Linked DNA regions of Homo sapiens: regions 1 and 3 are each linked to region 2. The links are contacts of gene promoters, found by promoter capture Hi-C in human tissues and cell types (Jung and others, 2019). All regions are on one chromosome and are shown on one strand. Each heading gives the region's core, a stretch centred on a gene start or on the middle of the fragment in contact. The rest is flanking DNA. Distances are from core to core; before and after follow the strand shown. Region 1 overlaps PDE5A (phosphodiesterase 5A). Region 2 holds the start of FABP2 (fatty acid binding protein 2). Region 3 overlaps SYNPO2 (synaptopodin 2).

The links. The method cuts DNA at HindIII sites, captures the fragments that hold promoters and counts their contacts. A contact is called where the count stands out against the background at its distance.
Region 1: a fragment that was not itself captured here is called in contact with the fragment with the promoter of FABP2 in region 2 in 2 of the 25 tissues and cell types used here (aorta and mesenchymal stem cells).
Region 3: a contact is called between a fragment that was not itself captured here and the fragment with the promoter of FABP2 in region 2, in 1 of the 25 tissues and cell types used here (spleen).

What each region holds. Positions count from the first base shown.
Region 1 is chr4:119,620,083-119,624,379 of GRCh38, forward strand. The region is part of intron 1 of PDE5A (phosphodiesterase 5A); the gene reads right to left. Among named protein-coding and RNA genes, the nearest start is that of PDE5A, 6.6 kb to the right of the region's middle. The HindIII fragment of the contact is 4,889 bases long and covers 1-4,099 here.
Region 2 is chr4:119,319,654-119,323,911 of GRCh38, forward strand. FABP2 (fatty acid binding protein 2) reads right to left here and starts at 2,485. Exons shown (of 4, transcript NM_000134.4): 1 at 2,383-2,485; 2 at 1,017-1,189. The coding sequence starts at 2,449. The HindIII fragment of the contact is 4,027 bases long and covers 1,862-4,258 here.
Region 3 is chr4:118,971,362-118,975,278 of GRCh38, forward strand. All of the region lies in intron 1 of SYNPO2 (synaptopodin 2), which reads left to right. All of the region lies in intron 2 of SYNPO2-AS1 (SYNPO2 antisense RNA 1), which reads right to left. Among named protein-coding and RNA genes, the nearest start is that of SYNPO2-AS1, 11 kb to the right of the region's middle. The HindIII fragment of the contact is 4,055 bases long and covers 502-3,917 here.

The DNA.
Region 1 (4,297 bases), core at 405-2,904, 300 kb after region 2:
GACAGCCTCTAACAACAAAAAAGTGTCACCACCAAATGCCAACATCTTCTTTTGAGAAGCAATGGTTTAGATGATTAAGAGATTAACAGACTATTATTAAACAAAACGGGAGATTTTGGACACCTCTAAGTGATATCCTCCAATAACCTCTACTCTGATGTTACAGTGAGTAGTTCGCTTGGGTCTGGCATGGTAAGGAAATGAAGAGTCTGCCCAAAGTTATTTAGTATTTCTAAGTTTGCTCCAGCTATGAAAACATCTGAGAACCTTAAAATGCAGAATTGCTTCATATGATTTTAACTTCAAATTTGACTGAGAATTGGAAGGGACAAAATATTTTGTAATTTTCTGTACATTCACAACACATGGTATAAAAGAAGTTGCTTAAAGGAAAACCTACCACTTCTGAAAGAAAACAATAACTCAAATCTATGCACTAAACATGTAAATCAGTTGGCTTTGCAGTTTAGATATGGGAGAGACTGGACTACAATGGCATTTATCTGAGGTTTGAGAGCCCACAGAATTCAAAACAAGTATGTTTTGAAGATCTTTACTTTGTTCTATAAAATGTTCTAATTTTATATTTTCACAATAATCATAATCAAAACAAAAGAAAGTGAAAGAAATTGCTTTCAGTTACTGGGAAGACCATCTTATTACCAACTACTGCCCTGCAATTTTAGTTCTAAGGTTTATATTTGTGTTAATGAGAAAATAAAAGACGTAAATTTAATATGCATATATGCCTTCATAGCAAGTAAAAAATGAAAGCTGGTATGCTGTGCTAGAGGAATAAGTTTCATGATTGTTCAGAGAGACCCAGTGGGAGAAGTGAAATCATTATAGGCCAAATTGTAGCAAAGGCCAGCTGACTTACCATACTGTTTTTCAGATAGTTAGAACCATATCTACTTTGCAAGAGTGTTTTAATGAATGCTGTAAATCTGCATTTGGCTGTGGTTTTATCATTTTGTTCGTAATTAACTGAGAATGTATTTTGGCATTACAGTTGCATAAATGTTGTAACTATGATTAAATTATATCTGCTTTTATTTATTCTACTTCTAAGAATTCCACACTTCACTAACATTAAAATAAAAGGAAGTCAACACTAGTTATGGTAGACATCTAGAACTTCTGGGTCTGCCCACATCACTTTCTTTTGGGAATGTACCCTCCCCAATGATATATCACCTTATGGGCTACGTGCCCCAACAAAACAGTCAAACAACCCTACTCTCCCGAATACAATGATTGGTTCAGAGTTGGGATGTGACCCAGGTGAGACCAGGGTAATCTGGGGAAGACTGATATGGATAAGAAGGCACCTCTCTAATATCAGAAGTTTAAGACCCACATACAGTTAACAAGTAGAAACTCTCAGCACATGAAGAAAGCATGCAAGAAAATAAAGCCAACACAGCACAGGGCCAAAAGATACATGGATAGATGAATACATGAACAAATGGATACATGGACAGATAAATAGATGCAAGGAAGGGCAGGTAAACAGAGTAGATAGATGAAAAGATAAATAGAGATAGGTAGATACATAGATAGATAGACAGACAGATAGATAGTTAGATAGACACAGAGACAGACAGAATTTTGGCAACATTATTTGATTAGCTAAATTCACAGCTAACCCAATCCCGCAAGCAATTAAAATTATGTGCATCAATTCTCTATGGGTTCAAGTTGAGTTTCTGTCACTTGCAACCAAAAGCTTTCTAATATATTGTAAATCAAAAAGAATGTCTTTCTTTAATAGGAGTACATTACTTAAGTTTGAAAAATGAGATTGGCCGGGCGCGGTGGCTCACGCCTGTAATCCCAGCACTTTGGGAGGCCGAGGCGGGGGGATCACCAAGTCAGGAGATCAAGACCATCCTGGCCAACAAGGTGAAACTCCATCTCCAATAAAAAAAAATACAAAACATTAGCCAGGCATGGTGGTGGGCGCCTGTAGTCCCAGCTACTCGGGAGGCTGAGGCAAGAGAATGGCCTGAACCCGGGAAGCGGAGCTTGTGGTGAGCCGAGATCACGCCACTGCACTCCAGCCTGGGCGACAGAGCGAGACTCCATCTCAAAAAAAAAAAAAAGAAAAGAAAAATGAGATTATATGATCCCTACTAACTCTAAATTTCAGTGATCCTGTGTGTGTGTTTTAATTATTTCATCAGCTCAGAATGTCAGGGTCTTCTCTCTTTGTATATTTTCAGTATAGGTATTCAACTAAAAGTAGAGAAGATAATTCTTATTTTTTATAATTATCACTATGAACATGATATCAAATGGTGATCCTTTCTCTCCCGATTTTAGGTAAAATACAATTATTCAGAGAAGAAAATTTGCAAAAAGTTAATCTTACTTTATAATTCAGAATCAAGGGAAAAGTCTCCCCTCTCCTGAAGATTAAAAAATCTAACAATGGTACATAAGACATTTAAAAGCATTTTCATTGCAAACTAAAAACCAGAGAAAATATATCTTTAAAAGCTTTAAAGGCCGGGTGCGGTGGCTCACGCCTGTAATCCCAGCACTTTGAGAGGCCGAGGTGGGTGGACCACGAGGTCAGGAGATCGAGACCATCCTGGCTAACATGGTGAAACCCCGTCTCTACTAAAAATATAAAAAATTAGCTGGGTGTGGTGGTGGGCACCTGTGGTCCCAGCTACTCGGGAGTCTGAGGCAGGAGAATGGCGTAAACTCGGCTTGCAATGAGCCGAGATTGCGCCACTGCACTCCAGCCTGGGTAACAGAGCAATACTCCGTCTCGAAAAAAAAAAAAAGAAAGAAAGAAAAAAAAAGCTTTAAAATATTTTTAGAATTTTTATCAAAATGATTCTTATAAACTTAACACTCAGTTTGCTTTACCTACCTTAAACATTTGGTTGGCAACAAATATAAATTCCTACCACTCAGAGAAAATGAATTAAGCACTTACATTGCAAAAAAAAAAAAAAGTAATTTAAAATGAGAATATCAGTCAGTAAATAAGATTACAGAGCTAAATATCAAATGAATGACTCATATGGAAAGACTTTCTTCAATTTTTATTCCTAGGTATGTGGCTCACAGGCACTTTTCCCTGAGAACCTGGTATAACAGATATTTCCAAGCCACATTCACCAGCTGTAATAGTGGCCAACTGAATCTACATCTATGCAGCTAAACTAATTTCATAGGAAGTCCTGCAAAGTCAGTAACTAGTCTGCATCCTAAATTCACAAATTAGTCATTTTTCAACCCTTCACTATCAATCAACTCATTGATTTATTTAATTGTCCTACAGTCCTTACTAAAGGTTTTTTTATCCTAGGAAGAGGTTTTTATCCCACAATTGGCTGTTGGAACAAAGAACAAATATAGCTTGACACAGCAATTATAGGTTTAACTTCTAAGTTAATTTGTATTTTCAAATCTAGAGGAAGGGGTGCCTCAAAGTAGGACACACTCCCTATAATCAGATAAGGGCGAAGCTACAAGCTTTACCTATACAACCTTAACAGAATTCCAAATATTTCAAAAGAAATAATACTTCAGACCAGAGTCAAATCATTTATTTAAGCAGAATAATTTAAAAAGGAAATTTGGTTGCATAGCATAATCAAAATACTAAAAATTTCCTCATCTTGAGGTGTTGAGGACATAAACGTGTGAAAATATTGACAATTTCTACAGATCATCAGATGACAGACTGAAAAAAAGCTACTGAATGATACCACAAGCCTATTTAAGTTTGTGTTATACTAAGCAAATCGATTTATTTGAAGATATCCATCTACACTAATTGCCATTGCATTAATTCTACCACATTTTTAGGAATCATGTAGTTTAGGCTCTAACATGGGTCTGAATTTGAAACTTTGAAAACACTAGAGATAGAAGAGCAATGAGAAACATTATTTCAGGGGCTCCTATGGATTTCTCCAGGCAGGAAGAATGCAATCCAGAAGAGTGCTTCAAGGACACTAAAAGCAGCTTAGAGCTGGTTATATGGACCCTGGTTATGAACAACATAAGAAAAAAAGGCCATTATTGCACCAGAATTACCATTATAAAAATACTATAAACAATATCAAAGTTAGACTGGGTCAATGCTCAGAGGGTTTTATTATCATCAACACTAACAACTGCCTCACAAAATATGCTTAACAATTCATTTGTCTGAAAATTGTGGAAAGTTTATATTCCTATATAATTATAGAAACAATAATTTAAAAAAATACATAGCAATATTTATATACATAATCTGATTGTATTGTAAATACCGTGCAATAAAAATGCTACA
Region 2 (4,258 bases), core at 1,235-3,734:
ATAATAATAATAATAATAATAATAATGGCATTTATTAGGGTCTTACACATGTCAGGCACTGTTCTGAGTTCTGTAGACACACTTTTTCATTTAATCTTCATGGTGACCCTATGAAACTGATACTATTATCTCTACTTTGCAGAAGAGGAGACTGTAAAATGGCACAGTGATTCACCTAAAGTCACAGAGTGAGGATTGAACCTAGGCCATTGGGCTACAGAGTATGTGTTGATAACCATTATGCTTGTTCTCTTCAATAATTTCCATACGCTGAATTTTAAGGCAGATGAGCAGCACTTCTTTCTGAATCTTTCATGTTACGTGTCCAGAAATATAGTCATGGTTAAAATTAGTTTCATGGAGATGTTAACAACTCTGTGCTTGTTTTAATTTGTGTGATTGTGGTACTAATTAAAGAAAGACATAACTTATGATAAAACATTCAGTAGTTAAATTGTCATTACAAACATGTAATTTAAATAGAAAAATGTTGAGGCTAAAAAAAGTTTTTAAAAAATTTGTTGAAAATGATGACTTCCTAAAATGTGTTATCTTAAACATGAAAAGGTACACTCCCAATGACCTACAATACATCAAATCTTTCCATTTGGTAACTCACTCATTTGTTCATCTATTCATTTCTTTTATTATTTCAACATGTTAAATTGCTATTACAGTTAAGTTACATATTAACTCTAAAGGCTTCTTTTGCTGTACTGTTTAAAAACACAGTTTTAAATTTCTTTATGAATAGGTCTATATTCAGTCATTCAAAAGATAGTTTTCTAATTCTTACTGTTCAATTCAGATTCTTCACAGATGCGTATAAAAATAAAAACATATTTAAATATCCTGCCAATTTGTGCAATATATAATGTAGACAAACTTCATTGGCTTCTTCAGTTAGTGAAGGAGACCTGCATTAATTAAACCATCCAATGAAATAGAGCAGAAATCATTTTAATATTGGGTAGAAAAATCAAGAATGCATTGCTCATAAAAAAAAAAATTCTTACCCTGAGTTCAGTTCCGTCTGCTAGATTGTAATTAAAGGTGACACCAAGTTCAAAAACAACTTCAATGTTTCGAAAAGTGCTTGATTCTTTGACTGTGAATTTATTTCCTTCTTGTGTAATTGTCAGCTTCAAATTGTCATGAGCTGCAAGCTTCCTTTTCACTATATTAACACCTGTAAAAGGTAAGACAATGGAGAAAATAAAGTCAAATCCCATAGGAAGTGTTTATTTTTCCAAGTTATGTTTTGTTTGTTTATTTTGAGGGTGGGAAGAAAACTCGGTAGCATTGCCTTTGCACAAGAACATTCAGATTGCTTCTACAGAAGTTCAGGTTCAATCAGATCAAGAGAACTGATTAAAGTTGTTTTTCCATAACTTGAGAAAAATTAAGTAGAGTACAGAATTATAGAATCTTAGAGCTGAGCAACCTTAATAAGATTAACAAACTGTTCATTTCAGTGTTAAGTAAATCAAATTCTAGAAATATCAAATGAAGGATTAAAATGTATATTCATATATTTATAAGGAAGCACATCTTTAATTCCACATATACAGTATTCTTTTTTCTTAAATGCCCCTTTGTTTTTCTTAGTGGCTTTAACATTTTGAACTTTATAGTTCTATTTGCTTCTTGTGGCATTTCTTTCTGACACAAAAATGAGAAAATTAGCAAATATTAAGCCAAAATCACTATAAGAATCTACAACTTTTATAAATTTAAACTTAGAGTTCCTAAACTGTAAGCTATAATTGATGCAGATTTTTCTTTTAGGGGAATGACACAAATTTGTTTGCCTATCTTGTATAGTATATGGGCTGCCAGAGTATTGGTATCAAATTATAAATCAGTTAAATTAAACGCCCTGGAGAAAACTACACAGCTTCTCAAGATTATTCCAAAACTTTTTTAAGTTAGAAGAAATCAGAATTAAATCTAACTTATTCAGCGCTATAAATTTTAAGAGAACCTTTTCCATTACTTTCTTATATGGTCTTTGTTTTTCCATCTCCTAGAATTTAACATTTTCAGATCTGGAAGTTATCATTACACGCTGCCATTTTCTTACTGTAAACAACAAAAAAAGTCATTTTTCAGTTAAAGAGGGAAGGAAACATTTCTGGATCTTTTTGGTGTGTTTCAGAGAACAGCACTCAAAGAATCTTTTCTTCCATTAGTGAGATAGTGGATTCTTCCTAATGTAAGAAGGGAGAATATGGTTTCCCTCCTCTGAACATCTTCTGGATCCTCTCTACCACATCAGGAGCTATCTGTAAGCTATCTGTAATCTCCTAGAGATTTAGGAGTTAGAAAGAAAAATGTTTGTAAGAAAGCAAAGAATGAGCCACAAAGAAATAAAGTCTTTACCCATTTTTTCCATGAACTTGTCATAGTTTTCACTCCGGTCTACCTTCCAAGTGCTGTCAAACGCCATGATTTCAGTTGAGTCAGCCTCTAGGCAGCTAGAGATTCAGGTCTGTCCTTGGGCGAGAATTTATTATATTTCTTATCTTAGAACCAACTTCATACTGTGATGTGGAAGCTTAAAGTTCAGGAAATCACCTAACTATGTCAAGCAATTAATTAATTCTTATTAATTAATTCTTAATTCTCGTTCTGTACATTCCTGAGATCTTCTGAAATTCAACTGAATTAAAACATGAGAAGCATACCTATTCTGTCTTAAATTACAGTTTGTGGGCATACTTATTTCAAGAATTAGAATGCATGCCGTCTGAAGATTGTTTTTCTAAGTTCAAAGTGCAGACTATGTTGGAGGTAATATAATTTATAGCATATATCAAATAACATCTGGGAAATGAGACCATGACCTTTCCCTTTTTCACAACAGCAATTATCTTGTAAAGTAAGACTTTATGATGAAATACAGTTGAAAAGTTAAAGTTAATAAGATTCGTTTTCTAATATGTCTTTTTGCATTGTGTTTAGCATTGCCAGGAGTTTGGATAAATATCCTGGCACTTTGTAGGGTGCATGACACACAATAAGTGCTCATTGATTTTTGTCTTGATCCTGAATGGTGATAGGCCACTGAGCAAAAATTCAAGAGGTACAAATGAGGCTGGATGGTGTAAAAACTTGCATAAAAGAAAGAATGAGCTTTAAACATCTGCCATGTGCAGAGAGAACAAAATCCAGTTTTAGCTGTGCCATTAATTAAAACCACTCCTTCATTTTACTCTCAATGCCTCTCATCCCCAAACCCAGTAGAGTCAGAAGCCACAGCTCAATTATGTATGTAGGGTCAGGGTATAGAGGGTAGCTAGAAAGGTACAAAGAAAAGGTCACCATATCTCTCCTTTCCCTACTTCAGGCTGCCAGCCAGGAACAGGCCAAGCTTGGGGAGGAAACTTGGTGTGAAGTAAAGAGTTTTAATTACTAGTCTTAAGATGTTTATTACTAAAATGAGTCTATTATTGTGACTGAATGTGACCAGATAACATCTTATTAACTAAGGGTCAGGAAAGAAGCTCTAGGGCTTGCCCAAGATATTACTTAGGGTCAAGGGAAGATAAATCTAACAGATTTGAACAGAACTTTGGGGAACAGAATCCCAGTTTTTAAATTTTGATATTATTTTATATTTTGATTTTTAAAAATCTTTTAAACATGTTAGATATTGTTTGATTTTTTATTTCGAGTTGCCCACTTTTTATTTTATTAAGTAAGCACTTTAAAAAGCAAACTATTTTCTACTAGCTCTATTATTTCATTAAAAAAGAAAAAGAGGCCGGGCGCGGTGGCTCGCGCCTGTAATCCCAGCACTTTGGGAGGCCGAGGCGGGCGGATCACGAGGTCAGGAGATCGAGACCATCCTGGCTAACACGGTGAAACCCCGTCTCTACTAAAAATGCAAAAAAAATTAGCCGGGCGTGGTGGTGGGCGCCTGTAGTCCCAGCTGCTCGGGAGGCTGAGGCAGGAGAATGGCGTGAACCCGGGAGGCGGAGCTTGCAGTGAGCCGAGATCGTGCCACTGCACTCCAGCCTGGGCGACAGAGCGAGACTCCGTCTCAAAAAACAAAAAAACAAAAAAACAAAAAAACAAAAAACAAAAAAAAACAAAAAAGAAAAAGAGTTGCCTGGTGCAGTGGTTCTTGCCTGTAATCCCAGCTATTAGAGAGGCTGAGGCAGGAGAATCACTTCAGGCCAGGAGTTCGAAACCAGCAGTTTGAGGCCAGCCTAAGCAACATAGGGAGAGCCTGGCTGTAACAATTATAATAAAA
Region 3 (3,917 bases), core at 1,279-3,778, 350 kb before region 2:
CTATCTCAAAGGTCCCAAATGTTGAAGGCTTAGAGTAGCTCTCCTACATCCCACCATCCTTTTAGGCTTTAACTTGAAATGATCAGTTTTACTCACAATGAAGATGCACTGGACAATGTGACTTAGACCTGAGGCTAGAATGGCGCTTCCATATCTTTTAGGAATTAATGTTTATTACATTAAAGCCAATGGGTCTCCAGTGAAAGGGCAACCTGACTTATTCATTCATAGACAGCAAAGCTGGCCTGGAGAACAAAAGCTAGCTGGGCCTGCTAGGGCAGGGTTTGCCTACTTTCTGGGTCCTGAAGCACAAGTGAGCGCATCATCTGTGAACACAGTGGTCTGAGGCAGTAAGAGAAAGACCTGGCCAGCTTTTCCTTTTCAATGCAGTAACCATGGTCTCTGAAAAATAATGGCTCAATGACTCAGTCTCTCTTTAATCAAATTAGCTACTCTTCCCATGCCGAGAAGTGACAGGAGAGATCCAGAAGTGTTATGTTCTCCCATCCATGAGAGGGGTGGACATTCCCTCTTTTGAGAAAGTGTAAGAAGGAAAATAATGGTTTCTTCAACATCACATAATTCTACAGGGATAGACCTCATAGTGTGGTCCCAGTGAGCGTCATAGTACTCTACAGTGGTCTTGAACAGCTTCGTAGGCTTACATGTAGAACTCTATTTAATCTCCACAGAAATTCTATGTAGGAGTTATCCTAACTTCTGACGAGAACTTCCTCAGAACATAAAAGAAAGAGAGGAGACAGAATAATATTTAACTATACTTATAAAAACAATTCTGAGGCCGAGTGCAGAGGCTCATGCATGCCTGTACACTTTGGGAGACAGAGGTGGGAGGATCACTTGAGCCCAGGAGTTTGAGACCAACCTGGGCAGCATGGGGAGACCCTGTCTCTACAAAAAAAGAAAGAAAAAATAGCCGGGTGTAGTGGTGCGTGCCTGTAGTCCCAGCTACTTAGGAAGCTGAGGTGGAAGGATGGCTTCAGTCCAGGAGGTGGAAGCTGCAGTGAACTGTGATTATGCCACTGCATTCCAGCCTGGCTGACAAAGGGAGACCCTGTCTCAAAAAAAAAGAAAAGGGAATTCTGAGATTTCAAGCAGAATCTGATTCCCTTACATTTCCCCAAATAGGAAAATAAAACACTTTTTATGTATTTTTTTCTTTTCCTCCAAGCCCTTCAAACTGTAAGGGCAGTTTGTCTAAACTAACTCAGAAGGGAAACGAGCAAATTTGTCTCTTAGGTGCTAGCTTTGTTTTTTCTCCATCACTTCTAGCATTGTCCTCTTAGGATTGTTGTCAGGTTTACAGAGTCAGCAAGGGTGAAACTGTTTTGCCCACTGCCTACAATTTTAAGTTATACATCTCTAAGTTTAAATCTAGTTCTGTGACCTTGGGCAAGCTACAAAAATCTCCTCAAAGTTCAGTTTACTTTTCATCACATAGTGAGTGCTTAATAATTTCAGTGTCTTTCATTTGAAAATTGGAAACAAATTAGATATTACAGGATCAGAAATACATATTTTGTAAGCTGGCTATCCCCGCTTGCTCACCTGCTTTTTCTCCCCATTCACACCACTTTTTCACACCAATGGTCCCCACTTATTATAACTCAACTTATGATGTTTCAACTTTACAATGGGCTTATACATGCATTAAATGCATTTTTGACTTATGGTATTTTTTGATTTATGATGGGTTTTGTGGGACATAGTCCCATTGTAAGTTGAGGAGCATCTGTAGAGTGAAAAACGTTTGAATTTTTGAGTAAGTCAGAATTATAGAATTAGTAATTCTATATTATTATGTGAATTCTGTTAATTATTATATGAATTCCATCAATTATAGAATTATTAATTCAAGGATTCTATTATACTATTATTAAAATTATAGTACCTCAAATATAAGACTTTCTCAGCATTTTAAAAAGTAGTTTTATTATACATATATACGTATAATGATTCTAGTAAGGCACACACTTGCACTAAGTGTGTGCACACAGAGGTCAGCTTCCTTTCACGGTGGTGCTGATTTTTAAGAGAAAGCCACAGCATAGCACGTATGATATGATACTGGCAGTTTTCGTTTCTGTGATGAGTGAGGATGAATTAATCCCTGTGCATGTCAGGTTTGGCTAACCACCATAAAAATTTCCCTTCACCAAATGTAAATATGTATCTTGCCAAGTACTTTCCACTTACTTTTTAAGCTTCATGTTTTTATTGGAAATTTAACCCATGCGTGTTGAGTTATTTACTGAACTCGGAATACTGTTGGGCAAATGCCAGTTCATAGCCAAAAAATTCCCTCCCCACAAAAGAACCCACCATAAATAGCCACATTTTTTTCTTCTTTCCTTTCATTTTCCTAACCACAATTTTGGATATTAATTAGTATCAGAACTAAAAGAAGCCTAGTTTGGTCCTGAAGTTACATAAAAGCTATATAGGCTACACCAATCAGTAGCCACTGGACATAAAACCTAAACAAACCCCACTGAAATAAGCAATCTAACATCACTCAGAACATAGTTTAACACAAGTAAATTCTTCATTGACCTGTTTTAAGATTCTTCTTTCTTCACAAAAGCAGGAGTCAGGTATTATTGTTCCCATTATACAGCTGAGGACGCTGACTTAAATCATCAACCTGCTTATCTTGGTCATATGATTTTAATTTTTGAAAAGAGAGTTGAGAATGAGAGTTAAACATAGCTAAATATTAAACCTGGACAATAATTATGTTTGAGCTAAGAAAAGAGGCATTTCTACAACACCTTTAGTGGGAGAGTAAATTTTAGTGCTCAAAGGGAATCAGCCGTAGCAAGTGGCATCTGTAGCATTTCTCAGTGGGATGAGATAGAAAATCTCACACAGGTATTGTATCTCAGGCCTTAGAGATTCCATACCTAGTTGTAGTGGTGGCTCTTTTTAGAGCCAAGTTATATAACAGGCTTTCTTGTTTGTGAATATACAGTCCATCCTTGACTCTCTTGCCCATCCTTGGCCACTGGCCCAGCAGAGGCCTAGACCCAGAATATTGTGGAAAACTGGATTTCTTGCCAGATTAGGTTTGACTTCCCTCACAGTTCACTTGTCCACACCTATGACTTCTCCCACATCTATCCCTAATTGATATGTTCAGCCTTGATTTTTCATTTGTCTTCTAGTCTTAATTCAACAATTTGATTGATTTTAACACATCCCTTTGCTTGGATACTTGCTAGCAATGTTCTCACATACAATCAATGTTAATACTGAAAATTTTGAAAAGAGAGCTGGGATTTTAGGGTTTCTTTCCCCAGATTTTGATTCTTTCCCTATGTTTCTTTCTTCTACCAACAGCATCACCATTATTAGGACTTTAGATTCATCCTTGACTTCTGCTTCTCTACATACCCTATCTCTCACTAAGGTGCAGTTTGCTTCAAATGTTGTCTCTTACCTCCTTCCTGGGGTTATTACAGATAACTCTAATCCAGGCTCTCATCACGTTGTTTTTGCAGAACTTTAATGGTTTCCTTGTTTCTCTATCTTCAGTCATCTCCTGTCTAGTCCATCCTACACACTGACTAATCTCCCTAGAGTGCTTACAAACCAATAATAATTTCTCATCACTACTGGATGAGAGCCAAGTGTTACATTCTGGCATTCAAAACTCTTTTCAATATGGTTCTACCCCAGTAATCCAACCTTACTTTCAATAACCTGTCACACACACCTTGCACCCACGTGAGGCCACCCTCTGCACCTCCAGGAGTACACCAGACTCTTTCCCACCACTGTTCTGTCATACTTATCTTATGGGCCACATATCGCTCAGTCATTGGGCTAAAGGAGCTAGACAAAGACCAGCACACAGAGTAACAAATAATTTGGGTGACAGATCCCAAAATCTATGT